Linked DNA regions of Homo sapiens: all the other regions are linked to region 1. Evidence: promoter capture Hi-C in human tissues and cell types (Jung and others, 2019). All regions are on one chromosome and are shown on one strand. Each heading gives the region's core, a stretch centred on a gene start or on the middle of the fragment in contact. The rest is flanking DNA. Distances are from core to core; before and after follow the strand shown.

Region 1 (3,974 bases), core at 340-2,839:
TTAAGGAAGCCTCAAAACATGTGAAAAGATATGCAACCTCATAGGTGATCAGAAAATGCAAACTAAAACTGCAACCAAATACCATTTCATAACTACCAAAATGACAGAAATTCAAAATTCAGATAACATGTATTCATACTAATGTAAGGCAATGACAACTTTCGTCCACTCCTAGTGGGAACAAAACTGACACTAGCACTTTGGAAAAAAGTTAGCATTACTTACACACACCCTACACTTCAGTGATTCCAATCCTATGTTCACAACCTAGAGAAACCCTTGAACATGTTAACCAGAAGACATGTACAAAGATGTTTTAGCAGTATTGTTTATAATTGCAAGCAATTGGGAACAATCCAAATGTCCACCGATAGTAAAATGAAAAAATAAATTGGGGTATATTCATACAAGGAAACACCACATAACAGTGAAAAGACTAAAACTACACCCGCAAGTATCACCCTGTTTGAAAAACAAAAAGCTAAATCTAAGAAGACACAGAAAAATGCATACGGTCCACTTTCATGTATATAAAATTAAAAAACAGGCTAAATTAAGCCACTTCATGACTACAAGAAGAGGAACAGAATGCAACACAATTCAGGGTGGTTACGTCTGATACAGGAAAAGAGAATATGATCTGAGAGGTGCACGTAAGGGTTTGAGGGGTATGGTAATGCTCTATTTTACTTAGTCTGAATGCTAGTTTCCCGCATGGTTTTATTAAACTCTATATAAGTTGTATCCCCTGCTATGTACGTTACATAATCATTTAATGAGCAACAACAAAGAAACTTTGAATACTTTCCCAATGCATCTAAATTGAGAGTTCAATGTTTTTAACACTTCCTATAAGCCTGGTTGAACAGATCCCCAGGCTATTTATGACTTCTCTATCATTCACACTGAAGAAAACGGGTAAAACCAGACTACAACGCAGGAGTTAACAATTAAAAGGTAACACAACCTAAACAGTAAGGGCTGTGTCGTCTAATATTTTAGCATCTGACAAACAGGAATTGATAATCTTTCAAAATGTCTTTACTGACAAACTAGAGCTAAGGACATGTCGGATAGCTCCTTTCCCCATACCTCACCCCATTATCAGGGTCCACTCTTGTATATCATGACTACCTATTCCCACCTCACCCTATTCCTCATTCCGTCAGTGACTTTCAGCCACCCGCAGGCTTACAAGGTTCTGCGTCGCCCTAGGCATTTTCTTAATACTCATCCTTTTACAAAAGACGTAATCCGCAACAGCTTCGCTTTGGGGACCCTTTAGCAAAAGCAATGAATTAGGAACACCTGGGTGGCACCATATCGGCCAGCCGTTCCTGTGGGCCCAGCCAAAATCTTATCAGCGATTATTCAGGTACTCAACTACACAGTACAGGCTCCAGGTGGTTTTATAAGTCCACGAGGAACGAAAGAAAAAAACATCGCAACTCAACGTACACAAACCCCAGGCTTCGGTTCCCACATAACATCACCTTGGTTCTCCGGCTTCGGCTTCTGGTTACGAAATTCACTTTTTCCAGCGCCTTTTTCTGGCCGCTCCAGCGAGGGAGACGCCATTTGCAAGCTGCTTCCGGTGGCTCCGGAAATGAAACTGTTCTTAAACCCTACCGGCTAAAACGCCTACACTCAAAATGAGTTCCGCGGAACTCAGACGAGGAGATCTGCGCAGTCTCCGTGCGTACGTGCGTTAAGCCCGCGCTTTTACACAAACCACAGCTTCTCCTACGTGGCCAATGAAGAGCCGGAGACTTTCTCCCAGTATGCCCTGAAACCATGGAGTTTGCGTACTGGGACTTGTAGTTTAGCAGGCGGTATAGGCAAATTGGATACTGTTTTATCCGTAGTTTCCTCGTGGCCTCACGGCCTAACCTGGACCATCGGACAGCGGAGTGCTACCAACCTGTCATTGATGTCATTCATTCTTTCGATAAATATTTATATGTTGGCCAAATATGCGCTAGATGTTGGGAGGAAGTACAAATATGAGAATACAATGTATATTGGGCCTCCACTGCAACAAGTGACAGGAATAGCTACTATTTATTGTGAGACTACTTTGTTTCAGTACTTTATTTACATTATTTCTAATTTTAAAAACAGTGACAAAATTAAACTTTTCAAAGTTGTTTCTGATGGTAATCTTCCCGAGTGTTGGTATTTCTCTAAGTCAGAGGGATGGTAATTCAACATCCTGACGTTTCTGAAGTATTTCAACTAGCCTAAGATTTCTCAAAATCTCTAAACTCCTTTTCTACCCCCAACATTACATAGGGCTAAGATGTGTAGAGAGGTTCATCACTAACTACAAATAACTACACTTTTGGAAGTATAAGAGTTCTTCGACATGCCAAATATAAGATTTTTTTAAATTTTGATTTTATTGCTTGCATTTCTAAAATTTTCTGCAGCAAATAGGGAAAGTCTTTGATAGGTTAAATTCCTTGCATTAGTGAAATACACGTTTGTCTGATAAATCCACTCTCGTGTATCTTATACAATAATTTAGGTTTTCATATATGAGATCCAGGTATGAAACAGATTGTTACATATGGACAGAAGAACCCACGACAGAGGGGTTTTTTGTTTTTATCCTGTGAGTTTTATAAATGACAGGGATTTTATCTCTGTTCTTTTAATTTCCTCAAAAAATGATAAATTCCTAAAATAGAACAGATAGCAGCAGGTGAAAGTTATAAAGTGAGGAGTACACCTCATGAAGCAGGTTTTTATCATTCTTATTTTAAGTAACTCAATCACTAATAAGTGGAAGGCCCGTCTTCAAGTTCAGGCAGTTTGACCTAGCAGCTTCAGGGGGCTACTATTCATTAGGAGCTTCAAATGTGTTAGAGGGCTGATAGGGATTAAGGGGAGGGAATAGTCTAGAAATAATATTTGTGTTAAAGCCCTTTATTTTATAGCAAAATTTTCTACATAGGCTTTTCTTCCCATTTACGTGTATATTTTTAATCTTAGTATTGCTATTATTTGAGGAATATTGAGAATATGATGGAGATGGGAAAACGAAAACCCACCCATCCTTTTCTTGGCACTATTGAGTCTGTTTGTAAAACCCAACCTTTTAATTACCATACTATGCAGAGCCCACAGTTCACCTGTCCCTTTTTGAAATTTTTACATCTTTTTCCAAATCATTACTGAAAGGGGTGTAAAAACATGGATAATAATTGAGTTCTAAGATTCTCTAACGTCCTCAAGACCTCCTATTATAGATGACACCACACTAAAACTGTCTGCTTTCCAAAGGAAAAGATTCATCAGGCTCCTACAATAAGTTATTTCAGTATTAAGTGATTCTTTCCCTTCCCTAACTCAAAAGCCCTCATGTTGTCCACCAACTGAATATACAATATAAAAACAATATATGATTGGAAGTTAAGTGAATTTTTTTAAGTCTGTTACTTGCCTTCCAGAACCCATAATCTAACACAAGTTATATCACAGGAATAGGGAGTTATCTTACATATAGGATATAAAAGCTTTTACTAAAAAATGAATCCTGCAACAAAAATCACAAATTAATTTAAAAATATTAATTATAATGACTATTAATCATATACTGAAGGGTATATATAATTATACAGTACTTTTTCCTCTGTGATAATATGAGATAAAATATAGCAAGATACTAATTTGATGCTAGTAGTTATAAGAAGTAATGTATAAAAATTAAATGAATAGAAAATTGCATGAGACTGAGAGGCTGAAGCTTTTCCTTAGTACACATACATTTTTTTTTCAGTTTTAAAACAGACTCTGATGCTTAAATATTGTTACTCATTAACTGAATTTTCATATTTTGGCTTGACAAGCAGGAATAGCACATATATATATACTTACTAAAAATTAAAATTGACAGTCAAATTGAATGAGAACAACGTTTCAACAATTTGCTTAGACTATGTTTTAAGCAATTTTGAAGAAAAATTTTAAAA
Region 2 (3,789 bases), core at 418-2,917, 600 kb after region 1:
GCAGGAGAGTCACTTGAACCCAGGAGGCAGAGGTTGCAGTGAGCCGACATCACACCATTGTACTCCAGCCTGGGTGACACAGTGAGACCCTGTCTCAAAAAAAAAAAAAAAAAAAAAAAAGACTTTCTTTATGATAGGTCCCCCGAAGTTGGGTAAATATGAATTAATTTTCATATGGGTCAGTCAGTAGTCAGCAGATACAGTTGTTAGCACATTAGCAACAAGAATAGGAAACTGGTCACAATGACGACTCCATCTCCTTCACAACTGTCTTCACTGCCCCTGCCTTGCTGTGTTCTACAGAATTTAAGAGAAGCTGAGGGTGCTAATTTACCTTAGCTGGTACTTTCCCCCTGTGCTTCCTTTATGTTCAGAAGTGGAGAAGGGAAGAGGCTATAAAAATAGAAATGGCTCTGAGGTGTGGCCTCCAAGGACTGATTTTTTTACAGACAAGGTCTTGCTCTGTCACCCAGGCTGGAATGCAGTGGTGCAATCATAGCTCACTGCAGCCGGGACCTCCCGGGCTCAAGCAATCCTCCCGTCTCAGCCTCCTGAGTAGCTGGAATTACAGGTGCACATCACCACACCTGGCCAGGACTGACTCTTAAGAAGGACCAACACTTCTACCCAGTAACCAGGACCCCCTTGCCAGCCCTTCACTGCCAGATCCATCTGCCTGAATGCCACCAGAAATGCATTTGATGCTGGGCACGGTGGCTCTTGCCTATAATCCCAATACTGTGGGAGGCTGATGTGGGAGGATTGCTTGAGGTCAGGAGTTCAATATCAACCTGGGCAACATAGCGAGATCGTGTCTCTACAAAAAATTTTAAAAATAAAATTTAGCTGGACCTGGTGGTACATGCTTGTAGCCCCAGCTACTCGGGAGGCTGAGGTGAGAGTATTGCTTGAGCTTAGGAGTTCAAGGCTATAGTGAGCTGTGATTGTGTCACTGCACTATGCAGAGTGAGACCCTGTCTCAAAAAAAAAAAAAAAAAAAAAAAAGAAATGCATTTGATTTCTGAGGTATCCTCTTTAAAAATAAAAGCATCTCGGCTGGGCACAGTGCCTCATACCTGTAATCCCAGCACTTTGGAAGGCCAAGGCAGATGGATCACCTGAGGTCAGGAGCTCAAGACCAGCCTGACCAACATGATGAAACTCCGTCTCTACTAAAAAAAATACAAAAAAATTAGCCAGGCATGGTGGCGGGTGCCTGCAATCCCAGCTACTCTGGAGGCTGAGGCAAGAGAATTACTTGAACCCAGGAGGCGGAGGTTGTAGTGAGCCGAGATTGCGCCATTGCACTCCAGCCTGGGCGACAGAGTGAGACTCCATCTCCAAATCAATCAATCAATCAATCAATCAATCAATCTCTGGAAAGTTTCTTCCTAGCACCTGAGATTAGCTACACTGAGAAAATGGGGATTTTGATGAGTAGAGGTTGGAGAATAGGACATGGAGAGCATGGAACACTTTGGTGGGTAGAATTGGCCAGTGCAAGAGGCAGAGGGAGTGCCCAGGTCCACAGCTGTACCCTGCACCATAGAGAGAGGCTCTCAAAGAGTAGAGAAGGGGTACAGAAGGAAGATGAATGACAACACAAACCAAAACATATGCTTAATATGTTTAAACAGCTACTTATGTAAAGCATTTAGAATAGCACCTAGACTCAAATAAGTATTTACTAATCATTGGTCCTAGGGCTAGTCAGTTGCCACAACAGGGAGAGAAAGTTCTATTCTTTCTCCTTCTTCTCCCTCCTCTCTTATCACGTGGTCTGCTGTTTCCAAGACTCAAAGATATTACTTGCCACCGGGGGTGGGGGGCAGTGTTGTCATGGGGGTTGGTGGTAGTGTGGTAGAAGCTCACACCTGTATTCCCAGCTACTCTGGAGGCTGAGGTAGGAGGACCACATGAGCCCTGGAGGTTGATGCTGCAGTTAACTGTGATAGCACCACTGCATTCCAGACTGGGCAATAGAACGAGACCTTGCCTCAAAAAAAAAAAAAAAAGACTTGCGCAATTTGTGGTATAGTTTAATTCCACGTTAGGTAAAAAGGCTTTAATGAGCTGGCCCTGGAACCGAAATAATACTCATTCTATTGTTTTCATGGAAAAAGTGACTAGCACACATTAGGCTCTCAATAAATCTTTGTTTAAACAAAAACATGTTTAGCATTCTAAACAACCAATGTATACTTGGGAATGGATCCTATTTATAGGTTGAGTGCTCCTTATGTACTGAAGGCATTTTTATTTAGCTCTTCAGAATTGAACAAGGAAGATTTGTAAGCTCTTGCAAGTGATAATTGTGTTAAAGTTTGTGATTTTATCTGACTTAATATTTTCTATTGAAAGTTAAAGAATTGGACATCCTCACCTTGGACAGGCTGGAGAAAAATATCCCTTGTATAAAAACTGAATTAGACGGACTTTTAGAGGCCTCACTGGGGTCCTGGAGCTGAATCTGGGAGCAGACCTGGAGACCTGAATGAGCTCAATGTTTCAGTGGAGGAAAATGAAAAAGTACCTATAGGTTTTATTGTTACTACTTTTGAGGGAGCAGAGAAGAGAGGGGTTGAATAGGAAAGTATGATCTGAGCAACAAGACTTGACTTCAAACTATAAAAAGGCCCTAACACTTTTTTGTGATCCACCTAGGCAGAAAACAGGTGGTGTCCTGAAGACTTACGGTAATGAACAGGTTGAGTGTGGTACGTGAGGTACAAATGACCAACACCTAGAGAGCCAGGGACAATTAAAAATCTCACTGGGCATGCCAGGCACAGTTGTTCATGCCTGAAATCCCAGCACTTTGGGGGGCCGAGGCGGGCGGATCATGAGGTCAGGAGTTCGAGACCTGCCTGACCAACATGATAAAGCCCCGTCTCTATTAAAAATACAAAAATTAGTGGCCCATGCCTATAATCCCAGCTACTCAGGAGGCTGAGGCAGGAGAATCACTTAAATTGGGGAGGCAGAGGTTGCAGTTAGCTGAGATCGCACCACTGCACTCCAACCTTGGCAACAGATGGAGACTCCATCTCAAAAAAAAAAAAAAAAAAACCTCACTGGGCAGGGTGGCTTGTGCCTGTAATCCCAGCACTTTGGGAGGCCAAAGCTGGCAGATCACTTGAGGCCAGGAGCTCAAGACCAGCCTGGGCAACATGGCAAAACCCCATCTCTACAAAAAAAAAATACACAAAAGAGTTAATCAAGTGTGGTGGCATAAGCATGTAGTCCCTGTAGTCCCAGCTACTTGGGAGGCTGAGGTGGGAGGATTGCTTGAGCCTGGGAGGTTGAGTGTGCAGTGAGCTGTGTTTGTGCTGTTACACTCAGCCTGGGCAACACAGTGAGACCCTGTCTCAAAAGAAAAGAAAGGAAGGAAGGGAAAGAAGGGAAAGGAAGGGGAAGGAAGGAAGGGAGGGAGGGAGTGAGGGAAGAAAGAGAGAAACAAAGAGAGAGAGACAACGAAAGAGAAAAAGAAAGACAGGAAGGAAGGAAGGGAGAAGGGGGAAAGAGAGGAGAGGAGAGGAGAAAAGAAAGAGAGAGAGAGAGAAAGAGAAATCTCATAGATGGAACATGTTCTTGGCTTTGTAATTGGTCACTGAGCCAAGATCATCAGAATGTGGTGAAAGTTGAGTGTCAGAAACAAAGGTAAAATCAGTCTCCTCTAAGAAAAATTCAGGAAGTCTTATAATCTAATAATCACTAATTGATTAAACTGGAGGAGAATTAGATGCCTAGGAAGGTTAACCAGTGAGTGCTTTTTTTTTTTTTTTTTTT
Region 3 (3,667 bases), core at 483-2,982, 890 kb after region 1:
CGTGTTGGGGACTTAACAGAGGGCAGCTTTAACTCTGAAAAACCTAAGTGAGATCTTGAGCTAATGCACTTCTAAGTAGAGTCAAAACAAGTTGGAAGGTGTTATTAGCACAAGATCGAAAACCCTAGAATTAGTTAACTGAATTGTCAGGGAAACTATCACTAGACTCTCATTTTAGTGAGGGGAGTCCTATGACAGATTTCATAAGGATTATGAGGTCAGAGGCCTTAGTAAGTCTTGGCAAAAGTGGGTTGGGGTGATTCTCAGGTACATGCCAAGTACTAAAATTTTCTGTGAGTCAGAGTCCTACGAGATCACTCTTAAACTCAGGATTCCTACAGCTGTCTTTCAGATAAGAATGAGAAAGAGGATAGAGTGACCAGGATGAAAGAAAAGGAAAGAAAAATAACCAGAGGCCAAAAGAATAGGGTCTGGAAACAGCAATGTGTGCTTGTCTGATAATTAACAATTTTCATTTTTTAACAATATATTATGTATCCAACTGATTATTTTAAAATAGCTTTTATATTAAGTTTGTCTCATCCTTTCAATAATATACCAAGTATATGGAATACTTAACAATAATTGGAATAGCAAGCAATGTATTTTTTACAGCATATTGTATTAGACAACATATCACACAAACCAAAAAGCTTTTTTAAAAGAACTATACTGTATGTAATTGATGCTATTGTTAAGAAAGACATTAAGATTCCTTCTCTTCATTAAGATGGGAACACAGAACCTCCGGGAATACAATAATAGTTTCTTTGCCAGTGAAAAACAATCATTTTAGGAGCTGTTTTTGTCTTGTAGGCGTTAGGTATACTCCAGGCTTTTCCATTCCAGTAGGTAAACATCCAGCAATCTGAATTCATGATTCAAAACACACTGACCTTTAACCAATCAGCCATAACAATAACAGAAGGATCTGTGATTGTACTGAGCAGCTCCTTTGTGGCTCTTTTCTTTTCTTCTCGGTAATTTTTCTTTTGTACCTATTTTATAGAAATAATAGAAAAGATAAAAACTCAACAGAAATGAGCAATTTATTTTAAGTTCAGGGGTACAAATGCAGGTTTGTTATATAGGTAAACCTGTGTCATGGGGTTTTGTTGTACATATTTTATCATTCAGGTATTAAGCCTAGTACCCATTAGTTACTTTTCCTGATCCTCTCCCTCCTCCCACCCTCACCCTCTGAAAGGCTCCAGTGTGTGTTGTGTCCCTCTGTGTGTCCATGTGTTCTCATCATTTTGCTTCCACTTCTAAGTGAGAACATGCAGTATTGGTTTCTGAGTTAGTCTGCTAAGGATAATGCCCTCCAGCTCCATCCATATCTTTGTAAAAGACATGATGTCATTCTTTATTATGGCCACATAGTATTCCATGGTGTACCACGTTTTCTTTATCCAGTCTCTCATTGATGGGCATTTAGGTTGATTCCATGTCTTTGCTATTGTGAACAGTGCTGCAATGAACATATACATGCATGTGTCTTTATAACAGAATGATTACATTCCCTAGGTTATATACCCAGTAATGGGATTGCTAGGTCGAATGGTAGTTCTGTCTTTAGGTCTTTGTGGAATCACCACACTGTCTTTTATCCTAATCTAGTATTCTAAAGAGGTTTAGAATTTCATACTATAATGGTGGAGTAGAAAAGTCTAAACCGCTGTAGAATTCCAGAATCTTACAATAAAAATACTGTATTTTTTTTTTTTGAGCAGGAGTTAGTCTTAGACAACCAAGGTTAGAATCTAGTTTTTCTGATCACTAGTCCAGTTCTATGTATCTTTTAAATAATTTTACCTTTTTTTTTTTTTTTTGAGACAGTCTCATTCTGTAACCCAGGCTGGAGTGCAGTGGCGGAATCTCAGCTCACTACAACCTCCGCCTCCTGGGTCAACGCAATTCTTGTGCCTCAGCCTCCCAAGCAGCTAGGATTACAGGCATATGCCACCATGCCTGGCTAAGTTTTGTATTTTTTGTAGAGATGGGGTTTCACTATGTTGGCCAGAATAGTCTTGAACTCCTGGCCTCAAGTGATCCGCCCGCCTCTCAAAGTGCTGGGATTACAGGCGTGAGCCACCACACCTGGCCAATTTTACCTCTTTTTAATTACACAATGCATAAACACAGCCTCACAATAAAAATTTCAAACATAAAGCTAGAACCCATTTTTATTATACCCCCAACCTATTCCAATCCTCTGAATTGATGACTGTTAACCTTCTGGAAAACACTGTCTTTTCAGACCTTTTCTAAGTAACAACCTATAGAAACATGTAGATGTTGTGTTCAGCATGCAAAAAGGTCCCCCAATAAACATTTTTTGAAGAGTATTCATGTCTGTATCATTCTCATTATTTTAAATGTTACATAGGATTCCAACTGCAAATTAAAATAATAAGAGAGCTAACCCTGAGGGCATTCTGTGAACCAGCCACAGTTCTAAGCACTTTACTTGTATTGTCATTACGTCATTTAATCCTCACAACAACCTTGTGAAGTAGAAGTATTATTATCCTTATTTTACAGACACGAAAACTGAGGCAGAGACAGTAACCTGCTCAGAATCACACATTTAGTAAATTGTAGGGTCAGGATTCAAACAGGGGCAAACTAGCTCCCAAAGCTATTTTTTTAACCACTGGCCTATACTGCTTCTATAATATTTATTAATATATTCTCTTACTGATAGAAACCTTCTCTGTTACCAATTTTTTCAAATAACAAAGAATGCCACAACTGTTTGCAATTGGAAGTTTTGCTCTCTTTCCCAATACTAATATGTAAGTTATAAATAATTAAGAAACCATAACTATAAAATTAATTTATCCAAAATATGAAAGTTTCACCTTCATAAGTTAATTCTGATAATTTGAGGAATTAGCAGTGAATAATGAGGTCTTATTGTTGCTTTGTTGTTATAATTTGGATGGGAAAAGAGTGATGATAACCTATTAGTGACTACATTTTTAAAAACTAACAAAATCTTCCACCAGAAAAGTTGCATTTAATGATAAACAGACTAGACATAATACAATTTTAATAATTCTATACCCTCAAAACTTTAGATTTTGGTCTTTATTAACCTATCTGATTTAATATGGGATGCAAATACAAATATATATAGGACCAGGCATGGAACACAAATGGTAAAATAGACTAGTTAGGAACCAGAGCCAGTTGGAAAGCATGTGTTTCTTAAGCTCCAGATTCTATGGCCACTCAGGAAGGTAAGCCCAGTGCTACATATTTCTCAGAGAAATTGGAAATCTGGACTTTTAATTAACTGTTGGGTCAAAATTTTAAAACATTATGCAGGTCAAGTTCAGGCCATGACCCAGGAGTTAGCAATCTCTAATTTCAATGGGTGCCAGAGTTCCCATTAGGAGTTCCACAACATAGTGATAATATACCTAGTTTGGATACAGCTGTACAGAGATAACACATCCTCAGCCTCTGCAGTTGCCATTTGAGGCCTAAAGCAGTCTGCTCTGTGACAGTCATCAATCAATCTTATCAGTTGACCACAGTGTACCATACAAATATTAACATTTTCTATGTGTGCCTGCCTGTCTGTACCACTGGATGTTTTTTCTTTCTTTAGGAACACACATATATATTTATCCTATTAGTCTACTTCCAAACACACATG

The links. The method cuts DNA at HindIII sites, captures the fragments that hold promoters and counts their contacts. A contact is called where the count stands out against the background at its distance.
Region 2: a contact is called between a fragment that was not itself captured here and the fragment with the promoter of KRR1 in region 1, in 1 of the 25 tissues and cell types used here (small bowel).
Region 3: a contact is called between a fragment that was not itself captured here and the fragment with the promoter of KRR1 in region 1, in 1 of the 25 tissues and cell types used here (lymphoblastoid cells).

What each region holds. Positions count from the first base shown.
Region 1 is chr12:75,510,020-75,513,993 of GRCh38, forward strand. KRR1 (KRR1 small subunit processome component) reads right to left here and starts at 1,590. Exons shown (of 10, transcript NM_007043.7): 1 at 1,494-1,590. The coding sequence starts at 1,578. RefSeq lists enhancers at 803-1,347, 1,348-1,891, 1,398-1,557. The HindIII fragment of the contact is 10,159 bases long and covers 1-3,974 here.
Region 2 is chr12:76,108,059-76,111,847 of GRCh38, forward strand. No RefSeq gene overlaps it. Among named protein-coding and RNA genes, the nearest start is that of NAP1L1, 25 kb to the left of the region's middle. The HindIII fragment of the contact is 6,893 bases long and covers 1-3,789 here.
Region 3 is chr12:76,398,977-76,402,643 of GRCh38, forward strand. OSBPL8 (oxysterol binding protein like 8) reads right to left here. Exons shown (of 24, transcript NM_020841.5): 7 at 897-998. Among named protein-coding and RNA genes, the nearest start is that of BBS10, 52 kb to the left of the region's middle. The HindIII fragment of the contact is 6,988 bases long and covers 1-3,667 here.